3 separate regions of the Homo sapiens genome follow, and regions 1 and 3 are each linked to region 2. The links are contacts of gene promoters, found by promoter capture Hi-C in blood cells and fetal thymus (Javierre and others, 2016). All regions are on one chromosome and are shown on one strand. Each heading gives the region's core, a stretch centred on a gene start or on the middle of the fragment in contact. The rest is flanking DNA. Distances are from core to core; before and after follow the strand shown. Region 1 overlaps SNX29 (sorting nexin 29). Region 2 holds the start of ERCC4 (ERCC excision repair 4, endonuclease catalytic subunit). Region 3 holds the start of NTAN1 (N-terminal asparagine amidase).

Region 1 (3,876 bases), core at 61-2,560, 1.8 Mb before region 2:
CCCGGGGCTGGAGTGCAGTGGCGTGATCTTGGCTCACTGCAACCTCTGTTTCCTGGGTTGAAGTGATTCTCCTGCCTCAGCCTCCCAAGTAGCTGGGATTACAGGCATGTGCTACCACACCCAGATAATTTTTGTATTTTTAGTAGAGAAGGGGTTTTGCCATGTTCGCCAGGCTGGTCTCGAACTCCTGACCTCATGTGATCCACCCGCCTCGGCCTCCCAAAGTATTGCGATTACAGGCATGAGCCACCACACCTGGCCTGGTCACAGCATTTTTATCAACTGATCAACACATAACCTGGTTTTATGTCTGTTCCTGTTTAAAGACACCTTGTTTAATGTATGCAGTTGATTCATTAACATTGAATTCACAGCCAGCAGCACTGTAAGCCATGCCTGAATGAAGCATCTCTAACTCACAAATTATCTCCATACGGCACATCACAGCCTTCCTGTGCTTAGGAACTGTCGGCAGTACCACTTCAGCACTGTGCTTGGGGACATTTTAAACAATAAAATCAAGTGGAAAAAAAGGCCGGGTGTGGTGGGTCATGCCTGTAATCCCAGCACTTTGGGAGGCTGAGGCAGGTGGATCACTTGAGGTCAGGACTTTGAGACCAGTCTGGCCAACTTGGCGAAACCCCATTTCTAGTAAAAATACAAGAATTAGTCGGGTGTGGTGGTGCGGGCCTGTAATCCCAGCTACTTGGGAGGCTGAGGCACAAGAATCGCTTGAACCCAGGAGGTGGAGGTTACAGTGAGCCGAGATCACGCAAAAGAAAGAAAAGTGGAAAAAAAAATGCTAAAAACATGGCAGTAAATAGACAGCAAAGAGGATGCTTGTTTACGGTGTGAGATCTGAGGTCCCAGCTGTTCGACTTCAGCTGAGATTATGCACATTAGGGAGTGAAATTATTGGCCTCTGCACGTGTTCATGAATGATTGTGAAAGCACCTCAAGTATTGACTTTGGGGTTACAAATAAATTTTAGTGCGTAGATGAATTTCCAAATACGGAATCTGCAGATAACGAGGCCTGACTAATTTCCAATGACTGCCTCTATCCCTTCTAGTAGAGGTACCGGAGTAAACCGACCTCTGCTAGTTTTTGGAATGGTGAGGGTGTGTACTTTCAGTGGCCGAGTGTAACTTCCTCCTGCCTGCTTTTTCCTAGTGTGGAAGCCAGCTCTCCAGGCCACGGAAGTCCTCTGAGCAGCCTGTTACCTTCTGCCTCAGTGCCAGAGTCCATGACAATTAGTAAGTACTTTCGCAGCCCCCTCCACCAGCTCTGGGATGACTTCTGGCCCACGTCTCATGGCGGTGCCTTTGTGCTTCTAACCCTGTGACTGTGGGTTCACGTCAGGTGTGTACGTCCCTGGTTGTAGACTGGAGGTGTGGTACGTGCTTGTGGATATCCAGAACCGTGGTTAATGCGTGGCGCTTGGGCGTGTGCGCGCTAAAGGGCGTGCCTCAGGATGGAGCAGCCTTGCCGTAGACTTCTGTGGTTCCAGGTTTTGGGGTTTGCCTCCCATAATGCAGTTAGCTACAGAGGACCTATTCTAGTTGGATTTCCTTTGTAACTCTGAAGGACTCATTTTTGTAAGTGAAGAAGAATATGTCTCTCCAAGATGATTAAACTTTGCTAATGATCAGGCTTCAACTGTTTCCAACTTTACTACCTAGAAAAAGTATTAGAGATATAGCAAGGAAGACTAGGTTTGAATGGCTTTGTATAACAAAGAATAAACCAACTGTTATGTAAACTGACGGGTGCTCCTGGTATCTCACTGGTGGCTTGAGCCAGCATTTGTCCCATGGCCTCCCCTGGAGGCAGAGGGGGCACTTGTTCCCAATTAAAAAAAAAAATTAGCTTTTGTTGCTAAGGAAGGAAGAAGGCGTTTGGGAGGCACCTAGCATTTTCTGATTCAAGGGTGAAGCAGGAAGTGAGCAGACACTATGTAAACCAACAGTTGGTTTATTTTTTGTACACAAAGCCATTCAGACCTACTCTTCTTGAAGTTCCGGTGGTTAAGGAGATGTGATGGAAATTTCTCTCTATCCAGAGGTAGATGGGCTGGGGCTGGTATGTGGCTCCACGGCCATCAGAGACCGGGACTCCTCCTGTCTTGCCTTGTAGACCAAAATAGCCATTTTAGCTCCAGCCATTTCATTCTCATTCCAGGCGGCAGGAAGGAGGAGAGAGCAGAGAGACTTCGTCTATTTCTACATATAGGATTCAGGGGCCTGAGCTTGGATAGGGAAAAAAATTACAATGTTTTTCATTTAGCTCTGGGTGAAATATAGTATTTTCTTCAATCATGATCATTCTATTTTGATGTAATTGGTTTCCTTTGTGATATGGTATGTTTTATATATTTTAATACATTTTCCTGAATAGGAGCCCATGGTTATTCCTAGATTACAAAATGGGCTCTTGGTACAAAAACGTTGAAGCTCCCCCGACCTTCACTAGAAGGTGCTTACAGTATACCACTCGTGTCTTGGGCCAGCATTCATGTCATGGTCCCCCTTGGCTGCAGAGGGGGCAATTGTTCTTGATAAAAAGGAAATTAGTTTTTGTTGCTAAGGAAGGAAGAAAGAGTTTGGGAGGCACCCAGCATTCTTTGATTCAAGGGTGAAGCAGGAAGTGAGCAGACACCGTAAGGCTGCTGCGTGGGAACGGCTGGCCGCACTTTTTGTATGTGAGCATGTGTGGTTTACTGTGGCGCTGCTCAGCCCTGAACTCCGCTGAGCAGGTGTTAATAGATCACTCAGTCCATGGGACACAGGGTGGGTGAGTATGTAGCTGGCTGCTTTTCACCTGTCAATCTTTTGTTTACCACAGTACTGTTACTTACCCTATAGTTTACTTTATTATTCATTTTTATTTATTTATTTTTTTGTAGAGTTGAGGTCTCACCATGCTGTCCAGGCTGGTCTTGAACTCCTAGGATCAAGCGATCCACCCGCCTCAGCCTTCCAAAGCGCTGGGATGACAGGCATGAGCCACCGTGCCCGGCCTACTACAGTTTACTTTTTTTTTTTTTTTTGAGACAGAGTCTTGCTCTTGTCTCCCAGGCTGGAGTGCAATGGCACGATCTCAGCTTACTGCAACCTCCACCTCCTGGGTTCAAGCGATTCTCCTGCGTCAGCCTCCCAAGTAGCTGGGATTACAGGCCCACGCCCGGCTAATTTTTGTATTTTTAGTAGAGATGGGGTTTCGCCATGTTGGCCGGGCTGGTCTTGAACTCCTGACCTCATGATCTGCCGGTCTCAGCCTCCCAAAGTGCTGGGATTACAGGTGTGAGCCACCGTGCCCAGACTGTAGTTTACTTTTAATGATGCACTTAAACAAATTGAATTCCTTTATTTTTTGAAAAAGGAAGCTTTATCTCACTACTGTAAATGGAGAGTCACTATGAGTTAACGAAACCAGCAGGTCGCTGTAAAATGAAGACAGTGGAAGGAAACTATTACTAAGTGTGCCTGGCGTGGTTGCCTGCCCTGGGTTCCGATTGATACCCACTCTTGTTGTTCAAAAGAGAGATGAGTGCTGCTTCTTTTTGGCCCCGGCCTGTGGCAAGTATCTCAGTCTTCATACTGCTGGGAAGCTCTGTAACCACCAGCAAGACCAGAAGTGGGGTGATCAGCAGTGCAGGAAAGCCCATTTGGGTGCAGTCCCCGCACCTAGCCCTTTTGGAAGTGCTTCTCCAAAAGGGAATTGTGCCGGAAAAGTAGGGATTGAAACCAAACAGCCACATCCTGCCATCAGGATGCTCTTTATGGCCCCACTGACCAAGAAATCACAGCTTCTGTACTCAGTGATGACTGCTTGACTTCAGTTGAGGACAACAATGAAGTTCTGTAGCCAGGCGTG
Region 2 (3,888 bases), core at 349-2,848:
ACGTCCTGAAATAGATCTAAGAAATACACTAACTAGCTCCCGTGGCCTTGCCCAAGTTATATAACCTCCCTGCACCTCCATTTTTCTCACTGGCAGAACTGACGAGATTAATATCTGCCTCAGAGGAAACGCTGTATGTAAAGTGTCTGCCGGCAACCCTTTCCACTTAAACAGCATTCAGGAATTATATGCTATTTTCATCTTGACAAAATGTAAGCAAAATACCAGATTAAGCAGTAAAGAGGTAGAGGAACAGATCCTCTTGGAAACGGCTAGTGTGAATGTGAATTGGTATAGGCTTTCTAGAGGGCAATGTGGCAATGTGAATGGAATGAAAAGCCTTACAAATTTTTTTCTCTTTATCCCAGTGATTATTCATTTCTAGACGTGTATCTGAAGGCCACGGCTGAATTTACATACAAAGATGTTTAGTGAAATATTATTTATATTACTGGAAGGGAAAAAGCAGAAACAGACTAAATGTCCTCTAATAAGCAATTAGGTAAGTACACCCACATAATGGAAATCTCATCAGCCATATAAAAGGACTTTGTAAAAGAATATGAAACATCATGTTCAGAGGTTTGCCAAATGTTAATGACAAAGCTGGGGATTTAAATCAGGGATATTAATTATCTCGTGTCGGTAAAAGAACTCCGTGTGATGAGAGAATGTGTATATAGATAGAAAAAAAAGGACTAAATAAAATAGATTTCGTGATGTTAACAGTGGTTATTTCCAAGTAATGGAAACAAGTGATTTTCATTTTTGTTTACTTGTATTTTCTATTTTCTAATAACAAAGGTGGGGGGTTTCTATACAAAACAATTCCTCTACTAGTTCAACTATCAGGCATTTCTAGGTATAGAACAAACACTGCGGGAGGTGTCCCTCTAGTGGAAGGAGGGATTTTTAAAAATAGTTTATTGTATTGAAGTCTTTGGGAGGCAAACAGAGGTCTGAAGTCAGTAAATGATTCTGCTTATTCCACAGCCACTGCACTCCAGCCTGGGCAACATATCAACATCCTGTCTCGGGAAAGAAAAAAAAAATTAAAAGAAGGATGGGGAGTAATCGCAAAAGGAAGGGCCAAAAACCACCCTAGGAAACAGGTGCTACTAACTCTTGGCGCATTTGGAATATTGACCAGTAACTTTTTCAACTGTCGATGTCGGGGGATTAAGCTCCTTAGGCTTACTTCCCCTTCCCTTGCTTTTTGGCAGCTTGAGGCTAGGGTGCCAGGGGATGTGGAAACTCAAAAGAGACGTGAATGGAGCCTGATATCTGCAAGCTACACCGACAGGGGGCGCCAGCCCCTACAGGTGACTCCATGAATCTTCGGCTCCACTCGGCTCTTCTTCGGCTGAGTTCGGCCAACGCTTGCCTTCTCAGGCTCGGCTCTCTTCGGCTTTCTGAGAGCGCGCCTGTCGTGGCCTCGGCTCCTCTTCGGCTGCGTTCGGCCCACGATCATCTCAGTCTCAGCTCTCCTCGGCTACGTTCGGCTGGCTGCCGTCCTCTCGGACTCGGCTCTCTTCGGTTGAGTTCGGCCTACTCTCCACTAGGAGTCGGCTTCCTTCGGCTGCGTTCGGCTGCGACCCGGAAGAGCTTCCATGGAGTCAGGGCAGCCGGCTCGACGGATTGCCATGGCGCCGCTGCTGGAGTACGAGCGACAGCTGGTGCTGGAACTGCTCGACACTGACGGGCTAGTAGTGTGCGCCCGCGGGCTCGGCGCGGACCGGCTCCTCTACCACTTTCTCCAGCTGCACTGCCACCCAGCCTGCCTGGTGCTGGTGCTCAACACGCAGCCGGCCGAGGAGGTGCGGCCGCGCTGGCGCGGGAGTGAGGGGACTCCGAGAGTGTTGAGGGCCTCCTGAGCGGATGCGAGGCCTCTGACAGGGATGGAGGGGCTCTGAGGGGGATTCAGGCCCCTGACACTACGCGATGACACAGAGAAGGATGGCAGGGGTCCCCAGGGGGATGCAGGTCCCTCACACTGCGGGAACACAGACGTATGTAAGGGGTCGCTAGGAGGATACCGGTCGCTCACACCGTGCGGGGACACTGATAAGAATTGGAGGGGCCCCGAGAAGGCTGCAGGTCCCTGGCAGGAGTTGAAGAACACTAAGAGGAATGCCAGTCCCTGACACTGTGCGGGGACTCTGAGAGGGAAGGGAGGGGTCCCAAGAAGGATGCAAGTCTTTGACCAGAGTTCAAGAACACTAAGAGAAATGGGAGGGGTCCCCAGGGGATGCGGGTCCCTGACACTGTGCAGGCACAGTGAGAATGATGGAAGGGGTCCCGAGAAGGATGCAATTCCCTGACAACACTAAGAGGGATGGGAGGGGTCCCCAGAAGGATGCAGGTCCCTGACATGGGTGCAAGGGCACTGAAAGGTGAAGGGGCTCTGAGTGGTAGGAGAGGATCGGAGGTCGCTGCAGGGGAGGGGGAGATGTCGGAAGGAGGATCTGGATAGGAATAACGGGAGAGTCCTGAAGTTGGCCATTAAGGGAGTTTCTGGGGGCAGAAGGAAGGTCCCTGAAAGGGAACAGTGATGAGGATGGAAGATCTCTGAGGGTGATGGGGAGACATGAAAGGAGATGCTGAGGCGCTGGAAAAACCCCAATAGGGAAAAGGAGGGACCAGGAAATAGGACATTCACCAAGGCTGTGTTAAGAGGGCCATAGGGTCAGAAAGGGATTGGAGCTTGACGCTGAGGATGTTGGCAAAGGTTAACTACAGTTAAGGACAATGGAGAACACTGAGAAAGATGGAATGGGGCTACACATGGGTCTGAGGGGTGTTGAGAGGGGACACAGCTTGGTCGGACAAGTCTGATGATCCCCTAGATATATCAGGTGGCCGGGAGAAAAATGTCAGCTGAGAAGAGTGACCACAGTCTCTTTGAGGGCAGGGATCCTGTTTGATTCATCTAGGTATCCCCAGTGCTTGGCATAGGGCCTAAGGCAACACACAGGGCCTAGTAAAGATGGTTTTAAACTGGGGATATAAATAAACCAAGCCAAGGGACCCAGTGACATGAAGTCCCTCTAGGATAGATTAGCACAGAACTGATAGTCTAAAACATTGTCTGGGGAAAGGATTCCCTTGTTATCATCTCATAGAATGTGCTTGGCTACAAACCTGGCTTTGGTGGGAAGTATTTTCTAGGTAGCAGAAATCTTTTAATCCAGGCTTTTAAAAGTTTGAGGTTTTGTATGTGTGTGCATATGTTATTGTAGTTGAGTGCTGATAATGACTGAAGTGCAATTATTCCTTAGTGTAAACCCCAAAACAAGAAAACCTCATTAAATGTAGACTGGTTGGCTGAAGTTACTATAAAGAAGTAACTTAGTGTGTATATTCATTATTAAGTTCATTATCTCAGAGAAAGACAGCACATTATTTTAAATATCTGTGACCTATTAAAAACTGCCCTGTATTAAATAGCCTACTAATCAAGTTTGATTTGATTTAGGAGTATTTTATCAATCAGCTGAAGATAGAAGGAGTTGAACACCTCCCTCGCCGTGTAACAAATGAAATCACAAGCAACAGTCGCTATGAAGTTTACACACAAGGTGGTGTTATATTTGCGACAAGTAGGATACTTGTGGTTGACTTCTTGACTGATAGAATACCTTCAGATTTAATTACTGGTAAGAATTTGAAATCTTATTATTAGTATGTAAATTTGTACTTTTTTTTTTTTAAGTACAATTTCCATTTTATTTTTCTCCAGAGAATAGTCTGTCTTCAGTCTTGAAGGACTCAGCTCCCTACATCACCTTTGGTAGGGGTCGTGGGGCAGCACCCACAGGTCTAAATCTGGGTGGGGGTGTTCGGTCCTTGCAGGCTTCACAAGATCGATTCCTGACTACTTTGTTGTGA
Region 3 (4,042 bases), core at 160-2,659, 1.1 Mb after region 2:
CACCCTTCAGAACACGTTCAGGGGTCATTTTGTGACCTCATTTATGCAGCAAATCTTTACTGAGCGCCAATTCTATGCCAGGGACCGTCCTACACTCTGAGGATACAAAAGTGAGGACACTACTCTTATCTGCCTTCAGGAGGCTTACATTCTGGCGACAGACCAATAGAGAACAAACAAGCAAACAAAATAATCACAAACTGTACAGCTGTGACAGATGAAACCTCTAAATGCCTTCCCCAACCCAACACACTTGGTCAGGTTCCTGTGCTTCCCATCTCAGAGTGAAAGGGGACGCTTTTTCTTTATGGTACTTAACAGTTTATAGTATCTGAGCCTTCTTCATCAGAAACCATTCTCCCTTCTAGACTATAAACACTCCGAGGGCAGGGACAGTGATCAGTACGTTGCCCAACAGATATTAGGGGCTCGATATTTGACTCTCAAATCAAGGAACTGATTGATTCCCCTTTAACAGGATCTATGGCAAATAGGACGTCTGCCCCCGCCGCCACGCCCCGCTCTTTTTAAAACCTGAGAACCCCCTTGCCAACAGTCCCTGCATAAGCGTGGACAAGAGTTCAGAGATCTATTTGAGCACAAAAGCAGAAAAAACAAAAACAAAACCCGTGCATCAGGGCGTGGTCCTATGGCCCAGCTGCGGAAAGCAGGGCTCTCTCTCCCGGCTAAAAATAACTCGGCGCCCTACGCCCCGGGGGTAGGGGAGAGAGAGGAGGAAGGACTGGGGGTCCCCGCCAAGATCCCCCAGGCCAAACGCTCTCCGAAGCCCACCCTGGAATAACCTCCTGCTTCACGGGGACGCAAGGACGAAGCAACGTTCACCGCAGGCTGCGGGTCCCCGAAGGCGGGCGGCCGGATTTGCCTAAACGGACCCAGCCCTATGGGGGCTGCAGCCGCCCCGTCGGGGAATGGGGGTCCCGGCGTGTCCCCGAGCCGCAGTGCTGTGCGACCTTGGGCAAGTCACCTAACCTCTCTGGGCCCCCGTCCCCTCCCTTGTCAGAGAGTGGCCTCCGGGGCAGCCCGCTGAAGTCTAAAGAAGGCAAAAACTCCCCGACCCCTCAAGGGGAAGACGCGAGCCGACGGCCGGGGCTCCGGATGTGCCAACAGCGCCAAGTTTCAAGTCTGTGTCGCGTGAGGGGGGCGCTAGCCCGCCCTGCAGCTTCCCCTCGGGCCCGCCCCGAAGCCCCGCGCCGCGCCCCACTCACCTCCAAAGGCGGGTGGGCTCGGACGAGGTCCCCGGCTGACTGCGGCAGCCGCACTCGCCGCCCCTCGACGAGCAGCGGCATCGCGGAGGCGGCCGCCCAGGCAGGCCCAGGGAGGCGGCGGCCCCCCGCTTTGCAGCCCCGGGCCGCCCGCCGCCCCCGCCCCTCGGGCCGCGCGTCCCGCCTCGTCCTGCCCCGCCCCACCGCGGGCGCTGCCGGGAAGTGGAGTCCAGGCGGAGGCGGTGCCGGCCGAAGAGACTGGAGAAATCCAGGACATGGCCGCAAGGCCTCACGGGAAATGTAGTCCAAAGCCAGGAAGTGGCCCTGGAAGCAGCGCGCGGCCCGCCTCCTCCGCAAGGGGCGCTGGGAAGTGTAGTCCCAAAAGCGTGGGAGTGAAGGAGCGGGGAAAGGAGAGCTGCCAGGGAGCAGCTGCACCAGCCAAGAGAGCCTCCGGGCGAGTTCCTGGGGCGGGTTCTGGCTCCGACTGCTGCGCTTTAGGTCATTGCTCCACGCTTCCCAGGTGTGTGACCTTCCACAAGCTTGAGTTTGGGACCCTGCTGTGCAGCTCCGTAGGATTGCATTCAATGAGTAATAATAAACCTAATCAGGCGGGCACGGTGGCTCACGCCTGTAATCCCAGCACTTTGGGGGGCCGAGGCAGGAGGATCGCTTGAGGCCAGGAGTTCGAGACCAGCCTGGGCAACATAGTGAGACCCACCCTCCCCCATACCCTCGTCTCTGCCAAAAATTTAAAAATTAACTGGGCACGGTGGCATGCACCTGTGATCCCAGCCACTCTGTAGGCTGAGGCGGGAGGATCTCTTGACCCCAGGAGTGGGAGGCTGCAATGAGCTATGTTTGGGCACTGCAGAGGGACACTCTGTTTCTGAAAATAATAAAAATAAATGTAAACGGTCTTAAACTGAGAAAATAGATCCTGAACTGTGCTAGCCCCACGTACTAAAGAGATCATCGATTAACACGTCGTGATTGGAATGCAATAGGCCACTCACAGGTGGGCTGGGAACCGTGGGGGAAGGATTTGCGGATACTGACTGCAGAGCCCCTAATCTGAGGACAGGTCCCCAAGGTGAGAGGCGTCTCACCGTGGAGCTCTCTTCTAAAACTTGGAAATATTGCTCAAATTCATCCAACTCTGCAGCACATTAACAAAAAGTAATTTTACAAAAGATACAGAGGAGCCACATGATACAGCAGAAACTTTATTAGAATTTTATCATCTGTATTCATCGTCTTCTTTCATAAATCTCCCCCTCAGCTTACACACCCCGTTCAACAAAAATACCAGGAAATTTACTAAAGAAATGACTGTAGAAGATGGTGTTCCCATCGCCAGGTTACCCAACTTCTCACCCAAAATAACTCTATTTCTAGCTACCAGGAAATTATTTCTCTGTATTATTACACCTACATTTCTCATTTGTCCTTACAAATGTAGGAGCTACTATCAACACCTCATTTGTCATTTGTCCTCACAAATGTAGGAGCTACTATCAACACCTCCGTTATAACAGATACAGTAACTTGCTCAAAGTGGTAGAAATAAGTAGTAGAACGAAGACTGAACCTAGCTTTGCATGATTCCAAAGGCAGTGCTCTCCATCACTATAAGATGCTCCTAGACTGTACTGTAAACAACTCATTCTAATGCAGGTGACATTAAGTAAGTCCCAACTAGGAAGCTCGGAGCTAAAAACAGGGTTTGAAACCAGGGTGATCAATGACCAGCAGGCTGGCCTGGAGCAAGTTACTTAACTTCCCTGAACTGGTTTTGTAGAATAGCATGTTTGTTTCACCTGGTACATACTAAACACTAAAGATAGCTATTATTGGAATTGCAGAGCAAAGAGTAGTCAATCAAAGTGAGGCATTTGGAAGTGCAAAGGTGAAGAACAAGGTTCTGTGGGTTCTGCCTGGGGCTGGTGCAGTTTGCCTAACTGGTTTTTCACTTTTGGGTGATCTTTTTTCAAGTAATCTCAGGTTATCAATCTCCTAGGCTGAGTACTGTGTTAAAGGACTAAATGAGCCAGATAACAAGCAGGAAACCACTCCCCTACCTCTCTTCCCACCCAGCTCCACAAATTTTGGTCTACAGGCAATGAGGAAGCAATAGCAGGTGTGTGGCCAGCACTGCGGCTCATGCCTGTAACCCCAGCACTTTGAAAGGCCGAAGGAGGACTCACTTGAGCCCAGAAGTTCGAGACGAGCCTGGACAACACAGGGATCCCTGCTTCTCCAACAAATACAAAAATTAGCTGGGCATGGTGGCAGGCCTGTAGTCCCAGCTACTCGGGAGGATCAATCAAGCCCTAGAGGTCAAGGCTGCAATGAGGCACGACTGTGCCACTGCACTCCTGCCTGGGTGATTACAGCAAGACCGTCTCAAAAAAAAAAGAAAAAGAAAAAGAAAGCACTAATTACAATGTTGGAAAGCCTGTTTCTTTAAGATAGGAAACCAACCTGCCTCACAAGATGGCTGATGGCAAAGTTCAAAGAATATATACAGGGAAATATTTTTTAAATTACACTTTTTTGAGGCCAGACATGGTGGCTCACGCCTGTAATCCCAGCACTTTGGGAGGCCGAGGCGGACAGATTGCTTGAGGTTAGGAGTTCAAGACCAGCCTGGCCAACATAGTGAAACTCCATCTCTACTAAAAATACAAAAATTAGCCAGGCATGGTGGTGCGTACCTGTAGTCCCAGCTACTCAGGAGACTGAGGTGGGCGGATCACTTGAGCCCAGGAGGCGGAGGTTGCAGTTGTTGAGCTGTGATTGCACCACTGCACTCCAGCCTG

What was found. Contacts are between HindIII fragments. The CHiCAGO score rates a contact against its expected background, and 5 or more counts as called.
Region 1: a fragment that was not itself captured here is called in contact with the fragment with the promoter of ERCC4 in region 2 in 1 of 17 cell types (naive CD8 T cells); the score reaches 8.9 in naive CD8 T cells.
Region 3: a contact is called between the fragment with the promoter of NTAN1 here and the fragment with the promoter of ERCC4 in region 2, in 1 of 17 cell types (fetal thymus). The highest score is 6.5, in fetal thymus.

Annotation. Positions count from the first base shown.
Region 1 is chr16:12,077,660-12,081,535 of GRCh38, forward strand. It overlaps SNX29 (sorting nexin 29), which reads left to right. Exons shown (of 21, transcript NM_032167.5): 11 at 1,174-1,256. It also overlaps the pseudogene RPS23P6. Among named protein-coding and RNA genes, the nearest start is that of SNX29, 100 kb to the left of the region's middle. The HindIII fragment of the contact is 4,146 bases long and covers 1-3,383 here.
Region 2 is chr16:13,918,556-13,922,443 of GRCh38, forward strand. It overlaps ERCC4 (ERCC excision repair 4, endonuclease catalytic subunit), which reads left to right and starts at 1,599. Exons shown (of 11, transcript NM_005236.3): 1 at 1,599-1,817; 2 at 3,476-3,656. The coding sequence starts at 1,611. The region is part of intron 1 of LOC105371093 (a long non-coding RNA gene); the gene reads right to left. LOC124903647 (a long non-coding RNA gene) reads right to left here and starts at 1,523. Exons shown (of 2, transcript XR_007065001.1): 1 at 1,124-1,523; 2 at 910-1,028. It also overlaps the pseudogene RPS26P52. RefSeq lists enhancers at 1,183-1,232, 1,443-1,802, 1,843-2,052. The HindIII fragment of the contact is 6,939 bases long and covers 1-3,888 here.
Region 3 is chr16:15,054,665-15,058,706 of GRCh38, forward strand. NTAN1 (N-terminal asparagine amidase) reads right to left here and starts at 1,410. Exons shown (of 10, transcript NM_173474.4): 1 at 1,227-1,410. The coding sequence starts at 1,307. It also overlaps a transcript of PDXDC1 not described here. RefSeq lists a silencer at 781-965. The HindIII fragment of the contact is 4,402 bases long and covers 1-1,760 here.